3 separate regions of the Homo sapiens genome follow, and all the other regions are linked to region 2. The links are contacts of gene promoters, found by promoter capture Hi-C in human tissues and cell types (Jung and others, 2019). All regions are on one chromosome and are shown on one strand. Each heading gives the region's core, a stretch centred on a gene start or on the middle of the fragment in contact. The rest is flanking DNA. Distances are from core to core; before and after follow the strand shown. Region 1 overlaps RFX2 (regulatory factor X2). Region 2 holds the start of CAPS (calcyphosine). Region 3 overlaps RFX2 (regulatory factor X2).

Region 1 (4,403 bases), core at 949-3,448, 160 kb before region 2:
GAGGCTGAGGCACTAGAATAGTTTGAACCCGGGAGGTGGAGGTTGCAGTGAGCTGAGATTGTGCACTGCACCCCAGCCTGGGAGACAGAGCAAGATTCCATCTCAAAAAATAAAATGATATGCAAGTAATACAAGTAACATTCTCCTGGGAAGGACCACCATCTACAGCAGGAGATTCAGAAATGAAAATTTCTCTTTTCGTCTTTCTGTCTATCCCACCTCATATGAGGTAAGCACTGTTAGTCATATAACTTGTGTCCTTCTAGATCTTTTTAAGGCCCCTTTACCTATTTTATAGTATGTATAGCTGGGGTTTTTTCAACATAAATTTATTCTGCAAATATTTGAGAGCCTACTGTGTGCCAGGCACTGCAGATGTTGGCTTTCTTTCTTGGAGACGGTACCTCTTCTTTTTAATGGCAGCATAGTTTTAGAGCTAGGATGCACCATAAGGTACTTAATGATTTTCCTGTTGATGAACATTTGTTTCTAAATTTTTATGACTTAAACTAATGCCACTGGGGACAGGTCGTCAATATACCTTTTTTTTTTTTTTTTTTACAGCTGTGCTGAGATCTGTTTTACATACCGTAAAGCTCACCCATTTGAAGTGTATGGTTCAGTGGGTCTTAGTATACTATCTTCACAGAACATTTTCATCACTCCGAAAAGAAGAAGAAACCCTGAACCTGCCATGAACAGCCACTTGCCCTTCCTCCTCCCAGCCCCGGGCAACTGTGAATCCACTTTCTGTCTCTGTGGATTTGCCTGTTTTGAACCTTTCATATAAACAGAATCACACACTATGTGGCCTTTTGTGACTGGCTTCTTCCACGTAACATAATGTTTTCAGGGTCCACTGTCCATCCGTTTACAGCATGTGCCAGTGCCTCGTTCCTTTTTTTTTTTTTTTTTTTTGAGATGGAATTTTGCTCTTGTTGCCCAGGCTGGAGTGCAATGGCGCGATCTTGGCTCACTGCAACCTCCGCCTCCCGGGTTCAAGCGATTCTCCTGCCTCAGCCTCCCAAGTAGCTGGGATTACAGGCATGTGCCACCACGCCCGGCTAATTTTGTATTTTAATAGAGACAGGGTTTCTCCATGTTGGTCAGGCTGGTCTCAAACTCCTGACCTCAGGTGATCCACCCGCCTCAGCCTCCCAAAGTGCTGGGATTACAGGTGTGAGCCACCGCGCCCGGCCGCCTTCGTTTATCCATCCATCAGTTGACAAACATTTGGGCTGTTGCTACTTTGGGGCCATTAGGACAACGCTGCTGTGAACATTGGTATCCAAGCATTTGTGTGGCCATGCACTGTTTAGCACATGTCTACTTCTGCAGGATGAATTTTGAGGAGGGGAAAAAGACCCCACTTATAGCTAGCTCTTTGTCTCTGACTGTGTAGGTTTGAACATCTCGTAAGTCTTGAGAAATGCTTGGAGGCCATTTCCTGCAGAGGCACACGCCCCTCTTGGGTGGGCTGGGGGAGGCAGTGGCAGAGCCCAGCCCACCTGCCCCAGCCACCAGTGCTCCCGGGTTTTGCATTCAGCCCCTGGCACACACTCATGGCTAACCCTGGTGCCCTTGCCTGTCTTTGACCCAGCACTGGCGAAGGAATTGGCAAAGCCACCAGGTTAATGATGCAAGCCCCAGAAACTTGCGGCATAGATGAGAAGGCAAATGGCCTCTCCTTTTGGAGAACTAAAGAGATTTAAGGAAGCTTGCTGGCTCACTCCCTCTCACCGGCAAGGATGGCACTAAACACAGTCCGCATCAATCACTGTTTTTGTTATGCGATTTATGAGTTGCTCAGCCGAGAATAAGGTTGCACGTGGTAGGAGGAGTTCTGTGTGTACCGAGGTCTCATGGAAGGACTGGATTTCTAGGGAAGAAAAGGGAAAAGGGAGTTGATGTTAAAATATCATTTCTATAACAGTAATGCAGTAGTGTTCATCTAGAAGGAGAGCTGCCACATTTGGCAAGATGCTGGGAGAGAAACAAGTATTAAGTACTTGGTTAAAATGACAAACCCCACAAATATGCCCTGGAATGAATATAGCTCATAGCAGGAGGCACTCCCTAAAGGGCTTAGCAACATCACAAATAGCGAAGAGTTTTTGAAATCACAAATAGCAAACAGCATAACTGCTTTTAGTTTCAGATATTTAAATCTGCAAAAAATCAGTAAATTATGTGGGTTACGTTATAATGGTGTGAATTACAACGATGACGCTAATGAACATTTATGGGCATTTTCCGTGTGCTGGGCTGGCCATTAAACTCCACACTTTGTAGGACTCCTCTCATTTAACACAACCACCCAACACAGATAGAAGTATTTTCTCCGTTTATGGACAAAGAAATGGAAGTGCAGAAAGATTTAAGTCCCTGGCTGAGGTCACCCAGCTAGAAACTGGAGGACCCAGGAACTGGACCCAGGCACCGGACCCAGGCACCCTCGCCTAGCCTCCTGTTTTAGAGCTAGGATGCACCGTAAGGTAGTTAATGGTATTCCAGTTGATGAACGTTTGTTTCTTATTTATGTATTTATTTATTTTGAGACAGAGTCTCTCTCTGTCACCCAGGCTGGAGTACAGTGGCACCATCTCGGCTCACTGCAACCTCAGCCTCCCGGGTTCAGGCGATTCTCCTGCCTCAGCCTCCCAAGTAGCTGGGATTACAGGCATGCACCACCACGCATGGCTAATTTTTGTATTATTTTTTAGTAGAGATGGGGTTTCGCCATGTTGGCCAGGCTGCTCTCGAACTCATGACCTCAAGTGATCTGCCCACCTTGGCCTCCCAAAATGTGCTGGGATTACAGGCATGAGCCACCGCCCCCAACCTCGTTTCTAATTTTTTGTGAACACCAAGCTCCGAAAGCCAAGTAAAGGGGTGACGCTGTGTATTTCAGAGCTCGATATTCCCTCTGCTTTCTTCCTCTCCTCTGTCCCCTATGCCAGATCCTCCAACTGTTCATGACCTTTGAACTTGAGAAGGGACCTCTTTTCTGCTTTATCTACACCTGCTTTCCTGGTGATCTCACCGAGGTACAAGAGTTGAAATGCATCTTAGAACCTCCAGTGTCCTAGTGTCTGCAGCCTGGCTCACTCCCCGAATCCTGGACTTGTGTACCTAGCTGCCTAGGTGGCAGCTGCATGTGGGTGTCATCTGATGGGCATCTGAGGCTTCTGTCACCCAAAACTGGGTGCCTGATTCGACCTCACACTTGTCTCTCCCCAGACCACGGGCTTCCCCAGCTCAGCACCGGGCAGCTCCATTCTCTAGGTGCTCAGGCCAGCCCCAAGCCTTAAGTCAGCCTCGACTCCTCTCTTTCTTTCACCCTTTATGTCAAACCCGTCAGCAAACCTGGCTGGCTCTGTCTTCAGGTGTCTCCCAAATGAGAGCACTGCTATCACGTAAGTCTTTGTCACCTCTGACCTGGTTGTCCAGCCCTGACGTTTGCTTCCATTGACCGTTGATACTTCCAAAATATCTGTCAGATTGTGTCCCTGTGCCCTAAACCTTCCAGTAGCTTCCCAGCACACTCAGAGCGAAAGCCAAACACTCCACTGTGGCCTCCTTGTGTCTCTAAGTCCATCTTCTCCTCCTCCTCCTCCTCCTCCTCCACCTTCTCCTCCTCTTCTTTCTCCTCTTCCTCCTTCTCCTCCTGTCTTAATCTGTTTGGGCTGTTTCAGCAAAAGGCCATAGACTGGGTGGCTGTAAACAACAGACACACATCTCTCAGCCCTGGAGGTGGGAAGTCTGAGAAGAGGGTGCCAGCAGGGTCAGGTTCTGGTGAGGGCTTCCCTCTGGGATGCAGATGGCTGTCTTCTTGCTGTGTCCTCACATCACATGGTGGGAAGCCAGAGAGAGCTCTCTGGGGTCCCTTCCATAAGGGAGGGCATGATCCCACCCTCATGACCTAATCACCTCCCAAAGGCCCCACCTCCTAAAGCTACTGCCTTGGGGTGAGGAGTTCAGCATAGGAATTTAAGGGGACACAACATTCAACCCCCAGCATTCCCCCAGCTCCCTCTGGTGGCCTCCTCACGTGACCCGTGTGACCCCACATGTCCCGTGTGCCTCAGCCTTGCCGAGCACCATCCCTGGCAGAGCCTTCTCAGCGGCGACACTTTCCTCACCTCACTCTGCCTCTGTCCTGTCACTGCCCCAGGTCACCTTGTTGCCCCTGGCCCATGCCGCACTCCACTTGTGCATTTGAGTGTATTTTTCTTCAGAGCATTTGTCACCTCCTGCTGTTCTGTGTCCATGGTGTCGTCTGTCTCTCCCTGAGGGGTCAGCCCCACATGGTCAGGGACTCAATCTGTTTCATTCCCTGCTGTGTCCTCAGCACTTGAAGCCGGCACATGGCAGATGCTCAGACTGTGTTTGTTGAATGAATG
Region 2 (4,119 bases), core at 525-3,024:
TGTCACCAGTGCTGGGGTCCAGCCACAGCCCTGTTCTCTCCACCACCACCCGCACTTTACCCCCACCCCTGCTGCAAGGCCCCGCCGGTCTGCCCCCGCCCAGAGCTCCCAGCCTCGGGCCGCTCACCAGAATGTAGATACTGGGCCCGCTGGACATGTTACCTGCTATTTTTATTCCCCATTTGCCATCTTCTGATTGGGGGTTGATGTTTTACAGATTTTTTTTTCAAAGGCTTTATTTCAGTTTCTGAGGTTAGGATGCCCCTGTGCCCCTCGCTCCACACCTGGGCAGGTCTAAACTTCCTTCCAGGATGGCCTCCACACACAGCCTCCCACCTGGGGTCACCTGGCTTCCTGGGGGACCCGCAAGGGAGGGGCAGGGAGCAGCAGTCCGGGTGCGGGGATCGGGGGACCTCGGCGGGGGCATCCACAGGGGCTGCAAGATCTCTGGTCAGCATGGCGTGGGTGGGGAGAGCGTTTCTCCCTGGGGTCCTGAGCCAGTGACTCCTGTTAGGACCTTTGTCCCACCTCCGCCTGGTGGACCGGCAGGGACCTGGTCTAGCCAGTCCTGCAGCCTCCATTCCCCCACCTGCCCCTCCCCGCTCTGTGGTGTGGCTGCCCAGGAGAGAAGGGGCCCAGGGAAGGGAGGTCTCCGGCAGGGGTGGGGAGTGACAGGCCAGGGCAGCAGGGCTGAGCCGGAGCTGCTCACAGCTGCCAGGCACTGGTCATCATGGCCACGAACTCCTCATCCGTGTTCATGGAGGCACTCACGCCGCTGTAGTAGTCCTGGAATTCCGCCAGTGTGACCTGGGAACAGAGGGCCGTGAGGGGGCACGGCCGAGGAACTGCCTGGGGAGGGGGCCCCCCGCGCAGCCACCCACCTGCCCGTCCTTCTCAGAGGAGTCGAAGTTGTCCAGGAAGCGGCGCAGCACCTCGTCCTCGGTCCACTCCCCACTGCGCACCTTGGGGTGGGCACGGCCACTGTACACCCCGCGGAGGTCGTCCACCGTCACGACGCCGTCCCCACTGCGGTCCAGCTTGGCAAATGCAGCTGCGATGACAGCCTCCCGGGCCTGGGACATGGGGGGCTGGGACAGGAGGTGGTGACTGGGGGTGGTGGGTAGCACACCCAAACCCCCAAGACGCTGTGCAGAGCACTGGGGCTGTATGCCCCAGCAGGCGCCTCTTAACAGCAGCTCTTAGGGAGGAGTCCCCGTCTCCGCATCTCAGCATCCTCTGTCGCCCCATGCCCAGGGCACACGCCTTGACTGTGAGGTGGGGGCTCACCCGCAGCGCCCGAAGGAACTCCTCCAGATCCAGCGTCCCGCTGCCATTGCGGTCCCACTTCCTGCACACACCCTCTGCCTCCGCCTGGTCCAGCACCAGCCCGAGTTTGGCCAGACCCTGCCGGAACTCATCAGCGTCCAGGGATCTGCTCCCGTCCCGGTCTAGTTGGCGGAAAAACCTGGAGGCAGGGGACACGGTTGGAACAGTGGTCTCAGGGGCCGGGGTCAGGAAGGTGAGAGGGGACAGCTCACCTGGCCAGGCCCTGGATGCCCGAGGCCCCGCGGGACAGGCACTGTGCCCGGAGTTTCTCCATGGTGGCATCCACGGCGTCCATGCTTGGTCTGGGCTCTGGGCAGCTGGAAGGGAGAGAGGTCAAGGTGGGGACTCCCGCAAGCCCACCCTGGCCGACTGCCCCTTGTTCAGATGCTCACCTGGCCTGCGTCTGTCCCAGAGTCCTGCCTGCGGGGCCTTGTGTTAGCTGTGTTGTGCCTGGGGAGACTGTTGCTAGTGGAAGGTGCCTCTGGAGATGGGGTGGGGCCCAGCTGCATGAATGCACTGTGCTGGGCAGTGGGGAGTGGGGGAGGGATGGGTGCGCCCAGCCTGACTGCTTACTCAACTGCCAGCCCCACAGGGCCTGGGACAGAGCCAGATCCCTGTGGCACTGCATCCCTTCCTGGCTCCAAGGAGGAGGGGCAGGCCACTGCCCTGCAGGGGCTGAAATGCCCTGGATGGAGACAAGTCCGTGGCTGGGGAGGCTTGACGCATGATTCCTGTGTGACCCTGGACAGGTCCCTTTCCCTCTCTGGCTTCACAGGGGCTTCTCAGCCCGAGCCAGGGCTGACAAAATTGCTGAGGAATCAAAGTTCAAAAGGGCCCCAGGTTCTGACCGGCCACTGCGGCTCATGCCTGAAATCCCAGCACTTTGGGAGGTCTAGGTGGGAGGATCACTTGAGCCCAGGAGTTTGGACCAGCCTGGGGAACATATAGAGAACTTGTTTCTATTGTACAGCAACAAAAATGCCCCAGGTGGGCTGGGCGCGGTGGCTCATGCCTGTAATCCCAGCACTTTGGGAGGCCGAGGTGGGCAGATCACAAGGTGAGGAGTTTGAGACCAGCCTGACCAACATGGTGAAACCCCGCCTCTACTAAAAATACAAAAATTAGCCGTGCATGATGGTGGGCGCCTGTAATCCGAGCTACTTAGGAAGCTGAGGCAGGAGAATCGCTTGAACCCAGGAGGTGGAGCTTGCAGTGAGCCAAGATTGCACCACTGCACTCCAGTCTGGGCGACAGAGCAAGACTCCATCTCAAAAAGAAAAAAAAAAAAAAAGCCCCAGGTGGCCCAGGTCCTGGGGCCCTAAGACCTCCCACCCAGGCCCACCTCCAAGGGCAGGTCCTGCAACCCACAGAGACTGAGCTGAGCCTGAGGGACACCTCTGCTCACTGCCACAAAGCTTGTCACTGGCCGTTGTTAGGAGCCAGTCCCAGGATTTCTGTCTTTACGGATCTTTTGTTGTTGGTTTTCAGGCCTGAAACGTGACTTAGTGGGCTGGCTCCTGACAAGGTGGTGAGCCAGAGGTTGTGACCCCGAGTGGAAGAGCAGCCCTGATCCTGGACATAAACCTCAAGAGACGAAGCCACCTCACTGAAGGCCTTCAACGGAGACATCGGATATACCTGCCCGCTAAGATAGGTGGGTTTTCCAGGACTTGAAACGTGGGCCCTGTTTGAGGACCCACTGTTCGCCCCGACCCAAGGATCATCAATCGGAGCCTTCTCCAAGCCTGGCTTTACCTCGCTCACAGCACAATTATATTGTCAGAAGTTGCCTTGCCTGAGCGCGGTGGCTCATGCCTGTAATCCCAACACTTTGGGAAGCCAGGGCAGGAAGATCACTTGAGCCCAGGAGTTTGAGACCCGCCTGTGCAACATAGTGAGACCCCCCCATCTCTACAAAAACTACAAAAAATTAGCCAGGCATGGTGGTGTGTTCCTGTAATCCCACCTACTTGGAAGGCTGAGGCAGGAGGATCACTTGAGCCCGGGAGTTGGAGGCTGCAGTGAGCTATGATCGCACCACTGCACTCCAGCCTGGGTTACAGAGCAAGACGCCCGCCTCTTAAAAATAAGTAAATAAACTGGCCGGGCACGGTGGCTCACGCCTGTAATCCCAGCACTTTGGGAGGCCGAGGCGGGCAGATCATGAGGTCAGCAGTTCGAGACCAGCCTGGCCAACATGGTGAAACCCTGTCTCTACTATAAATACAAAAATTAGTCAGCCGGGTGCGGTGGCTCATGCCTGTAATCACAGCACTTTGGGAGGCCGAGGCAGACAGATCACCTGAGGTCAGGAGTTTGAGACCAGCCTGGCCAACATGGTGAAACCCTGTCTCTACTTAAAATACGAAAAACTAGCTGGGCGTGGTGGTATGTGCCTGTAATCCCAGCTACTCGGGAGGCTGAGGCAGGAGAATTGCATGAACCTGGGAAGCGGAGGTTGCAGTGAGCCGAGATCGTGCCATTGCACTCCAGACTGGGGGACAAGAGCAAGACTTTGTCTCAAAAAAAAAAAAAGAAAATTAGCCAGGTATGGTGGCGGGTGCCTGTAATCCCACCTACTCCAGAGGCTGAGGCAGGAGAATCACTTGAACCCAGGAGGCAGAGGTTGCAGTGAACCAAGACCATGCCACTGCACCACAGCCTGGGCGACAGAGTGAGACTCTGTCTCAAAAATAAATAAATAACTTAAAAAAAGAGGCCAGGGCTGGGCGCGGTGGCTCACAGCTGTAATCCCAGCACTTTGGGAGGCTGAGGTGGGCGGATCACTTGAGG
Region 3 (4,356 bases), core at 1,324-3,823, 130 kb before region 2:
TCTTAGCCTCCCGAGTAGCTGGGATTACAGGCGTGTACTACCACGCCCGGCTAATTTTTGTATTTTTAGTAGAGACGAGGTTTCACCATGTTGGCCAGGCTGGTCTCGAACTCCTGACCTCAGGTGATCTGCCCGCCTCAGCCTCCCAAAGTGCTGGGATTACAGGCGTGAGCCACCACGCCCAGCCTAGATGAGTTAGAATTCTTAAGATTTTGTTCAAAATAGAATCTAGCACCTGAATGAACATATTCTTTAAAATTCGCAGAGAGAGAATTTTCACATTCAGGCTTTCTCTGCTCCTGGATTTCTACCGTGGAATGAAATAAGCCATAAAGAAGACAGAAATACAAAGCGAATGGCACCGGCCACATGAAACAGGCTGGAGGCTCATCACAGTGTGCAGAGGTCCACTGTGGCCGTGTGACCACCTCGATCTGGAATCTAAAAGTTAGGAGCACAGCAAAAAGAAATGATTATGGTTTTAAAACACACAATTCAGGGCCAGGCATGGTGGCACATGCCTGTAATCCCAGCACTTTGGGAGGCCAAGGTGGGTGGATCACCTGAGGTCAGGAGTTTGAGACCAGTCTGAGTAACATGGTGAAACCCTGTGTCTACTAAATACAAAAAATAATAATAATAATAAATTAGCCGAGCATTGTGGCACATGCTTGTAATCCCAGCTACTCGGGAAGCTGAGGCAGGAGAATCGCTTGAACCCAGGAGGCAGAGGTTATAGTGAGCCGAGATCGTGCCATCGCACTTCAGCCTGGGCGACAAGAGCAAAAATCCGTCCCAAAAAACACAAAAAAACAAAAACAAAAAAACACAATTCCGCAAAAACAAAAAGGCAGACAGTGAAGCGGTTTATTTGATGTAGTGTGTATGGTCAGACATCTTTAGCTTTTATTTCTTGCACATATGGCAGTGGGGAGGGCGTCTTGGAAGCCCATCTGAGGTGAGGATCAGACGCCGTCGCCCTGCCAGCAGTTGTGGCCTAATTGATATGTTTCCGTGCCCACTTGAAATTGTCCAAGAGGAGTCAGCCCTCAGGTCTTCCTGCCAAGCCCCTCTCTCAGGCTCTCCCAGGCCTAGGTGGACTCTGCCTTCCTCTGCAGCAGCCACCATGGACAGGTCTCAGTGCCACTCACGGCCACCATGTGTGTCCCAGGTTTCATCACTGTGGTCCCTCTCTGAGGACTTGCCAGGACCCTGTGAATTCTCCAAGCACACGGCGCCCAGCTCACCTGGAATCAGAATGCCCTTGCGCTGGCATCCTTATTAGCACCATCTTCATCCTTAGCTCCACTCCTGCAACACAGGGGATGGCGTGTCCTCACCCATCACCCCTCGTGATGTATATATGGCAGTCACTGCTACCTGTGACATTCAGGGTTCATGCCGGGAAATCACAGCACTGCAGCCAATGACTCCGAAAGCCCCAGCTCTCAATAAACACACAAAACACTCCTGTTCCTCCCTCGACTCGAGTTCACTTTGACCCTTCCCATTTTGATAGCTTTGTGTGGCCAATCGGTACTCCCAGAAAAATAGCAAAGCCACACTGTGCAGATTTGACTTAGGAGGCTGGAGAGCAGTGGGGTCAGAGAGCGAGGGACCCAGACACAGGGCACCTGGACTCGAGTATTCTGTAGCCAGAGGCAGCACTTGAGCCCTCTGGCTTCATTAACCTCATCAGAAAATGGAAACAAGTCCGGGTTATACTGCAGAAGCGAGGGGCGCCACAGAGTGCTCTCCCACGCAGTGGTGCGGATGGCTATCCAGAGGGCCCCAGCAGTCCCCTCTGTACTAGGGACGATCAGTGTCACCTTGCTGCAGACTACAGACCCACAGAGGCAAAGCTGCCTGGGCGGGTGAAGGTGCATGTGCTTCCGTGTATGTGTGTGTGCATACGTGTGTGTGTGCCCACAATTCGTGCATATGTGTGGTGCATGGGCTGAGTGTATGTGCACACTTGTGTATGTATGTGCATTGTTTGTGTGCCTGCACGTACCTGCCGTGTGTCTGCCCAGGTCGGTGTGAGTGTGCAAGTCTGACCATCACCCCGCCGTCGCCTCTGATCAGTCCTGCCTATGTTTTAATAAAAAGCACATGAACAGACAAACAGCATCTTACATTCTGTGTGTATCCTCAGCACTGACCTCTGACAAGTCTAACTGGCCTTCTCTCCCTTCCCTTTTAGAGGGTGTTGGTCCAGGCAGCCAGCTCCAATCCCAAAGGGGCCCAGATGCAGCCGATCTCCCTCCCCAGAGTTCAGCAGGTACCCCAGCAGGTAATGACAAGCACCGCAGCACCGTGCAAACCGGGGCGCAGTTAGCACTCAGCAATCCAGAACAATCTCTGAAGGATGCATCCTTTTCTGTGGCTGCTGTTCCTTGTTGTAAGCTTCAGTTTCTTAGCCAAAAGACTTTTCCAGAAGCTGTGCAATTTTAAAAAAATCATTTACTGCAGATAGTTTTGCAGAAAGCCAAGAAAGCTGGTGATCTTTCGTTCATTCAGAAATTCAGCAAGCATTTGGGGAACCAGTGAGCACCCCGCACCTGCTGGGTGGAGCTCAGGTAGAAATGCAGACAGAAACAAAGGGCTCTGGACTGGAGGAACCATCTGCTAGTGAGTGCCATACCCTCAGATGCGGGCACAACAGAGGAAATGCTTCTTATGATTTCAATTATCTAAGAACAAAGTTTGAAAGCACGGCTGACCAGCCAAGTAGCAACACAGATCATCAGCTTGGGGACACTCTAGAAGCATGGTTAGCAAACTGTTTCCAGAAAAGGCCAAATTATACATTTTTGGGGGTTTGTGGTCCAGGCAGTCTCTGGAACAACCACTCAATTCTGCCATTGTATCGCAAAAGCAGCCATAAATGATATGCAACCAAATGGGTGTGGCTGTGTGCCAATAAAACTTTATTTACAAAAACAGGCAGTGGGCCAGATTTGGCCCTCAGGGCCGGAGTTTGCCAACTGTGCCCTGCAGAATCCTGAATTAAAGTTAACTCAGGCTCCTCCCTAAAAGGAGCCCTGAGGCCCTAGAGAATGCACCGCTCTTCAGGAGGGTCCTGCCTAGATTGGCAGTCTGTTCACAGGCATTTGTCAGGTGACTGTGTCCATGAGAACTAGGAAGGTTTGCAGGATCACAGGAAGGAAAAGGCTCCAGACAGGCCCAGCGGGGACGCAGGGCCTCAGGCCAGTGGCTCTGTCTTAGCTGCTGTCTGTCAAGGCACTCCCCAGAGACACCAAGGAGAGGAGATTCCAGAAGCTTCCACCACTTTTCTGGTGCTGGGCCTGCCCCAGCTCTTTCTGTAACTTCTGCATTTCACTTGGACCCCAGAATTCGACATTTGACTTCCACCCCTGGGGCATCACCCAACAGATGTTAACCCCTGGAACTTGTGATTCTGGGGGTGGTGCGTTGGACAAGTGCATACCATGCTCAGTGGTCCAAGGAGGGGCAGGTCAGCCCCATCCTGCAGCTTCAAGCACAAGAGGAAGGTCACCATGACACCATGACACCCGAACAAGCCCACTTCTGTGGCCCTCCATCTTCTCACCCCAAAATTCAGTGGATGTAGACAGCCACTAAGATGCCCTCTGGGGTGAGAGTTTGAAGTCCCATGTGCAAAGCGTTTGGCTTCCACTGCTCGGACTAGAGTCCCTCGGGGCCTGTCAGCCGAGGCTCTGAACTGATGTTTCAGAGAGGGGAGGGCAGGGCAGCGGGGGTGTGCTGGGGTCCCCCCATTGCCCCATCTCTCCAGGCATGCCGCTCCTTCCCACTCTGTTCAGACCATCACATTCTCTCCCCTCCTCTCTGCCAGGGAAGGGGCACCAGGGCCACCCACGGGGGGTGTTGGGGCCATGTAGAGTCTAATCTGCTCAGCCCCCTGTGCACTGCAGCCTGCACGCCAGCTTGAGCTACAGAGGGAGACCCTGTCGCAAAAAAACAAACAAACAAACAAAAAAAAAAAACAGAAACCAGGGACAGTCCTGTGAGCCAAGGCTGGGCCTCTGTCCACAACTCTAGTTTCCACTGCACTGGAGGAGCGTTGTCATTCTCCTGGTCCCGCCCCCACGTATACAGAGGAGCCAGGGCGCACAGACACGCTAGCAGAGCTCTGGGGATCAGTCGCAGCTCCCTGAACTGTGTGGGCCCGTTTGGAATATGTCGTCTGTACATTACTGTCTCCTCAGTGTCTTTCTAGGCGTGCCGACTGTGGGCGGGAACATTGTCATTTGGTACTAAATGTTCATAAAGGCAATAGAAGACACGTCTAGCTTGAATAATCTGCAGGCAACTCACGAGGGCGTGACTGGCGGTAACGCAGCGTATCCGATG

What was found. The method cuts DNA at HindIII sites, captures the fragments that hold promoters and counts their contacts. A contact is called where the count stands out against the background at its distance.
Region 1: a contact is called between a fragment that was not itself captured here and the fragment with the promoter of CAPS in region 2, in 4 of the 25 tissues and cell types used here (H1 embryonic stem cells, IMR-90 fibroblasts, lymphoblastoid cells and 1 more).
Region 3: a fragment that was not itself captured here is called in contact with the fragment with the promoter of CAPS in region 2 in 1 of the 25 tissues and cell types used here (liver).

What each region holds. Positions count from the first base shown.
Region 1 is chr19:6,074,496-6,078,898 of GRCh38, reverse strand. The region is part of intron 1 of RFX2 (regulatory factor X2); the gene reads left to right. RFX2-AS1 (RFX2 antisense RNA 1) reads right to left here. Exons shown (of 2, transcript NR_199041.1): 2 at 1,775-1,879. Among named protein-coding and RNA genes, the nearest start is that of RFX2-AS1, 14 kb to the right of the region's middle. RefSeq lists enhancers at 4,350-4,403, 3,739-4,403. The HindIII fragment of the contact is 7,886 bases long and covers 1-4,403 here.
Region 2 is chr19:5,911,909-5,916,027 of GRCh38, reverse strand. It overlaps CAPS (calcyphosine), which reads right to left and starts at 1,774. Exons shown (of 5, transcript NM_004058.5): 1 at 1,719-1,774; 2 at 1,539-1,643; 3 at 1,288-1,465; 4 at 882-1,088; 5 at 1-807. The coding sequence starts at 1,621. The coding sequence ends at 706. The HindIII fragment of the contact is 10,666 bases long and covers 1-4,119 here.
Region 3 is chr19:6,042,130-6,046,485 of GRCh38, reverse strand. RFX2 (regulatory factor X2) reads left to right here. Exons shown (of 18, transcript NM_000635.4): 3 at 2,204-2,293. Among named protein-coding and RNA genes, the nearest start is that of RFX2-AS1, 18 kb to the left of the region's middle. The HindIII fragment of the contact is 4,983 bases long and covers 82-4,356 here.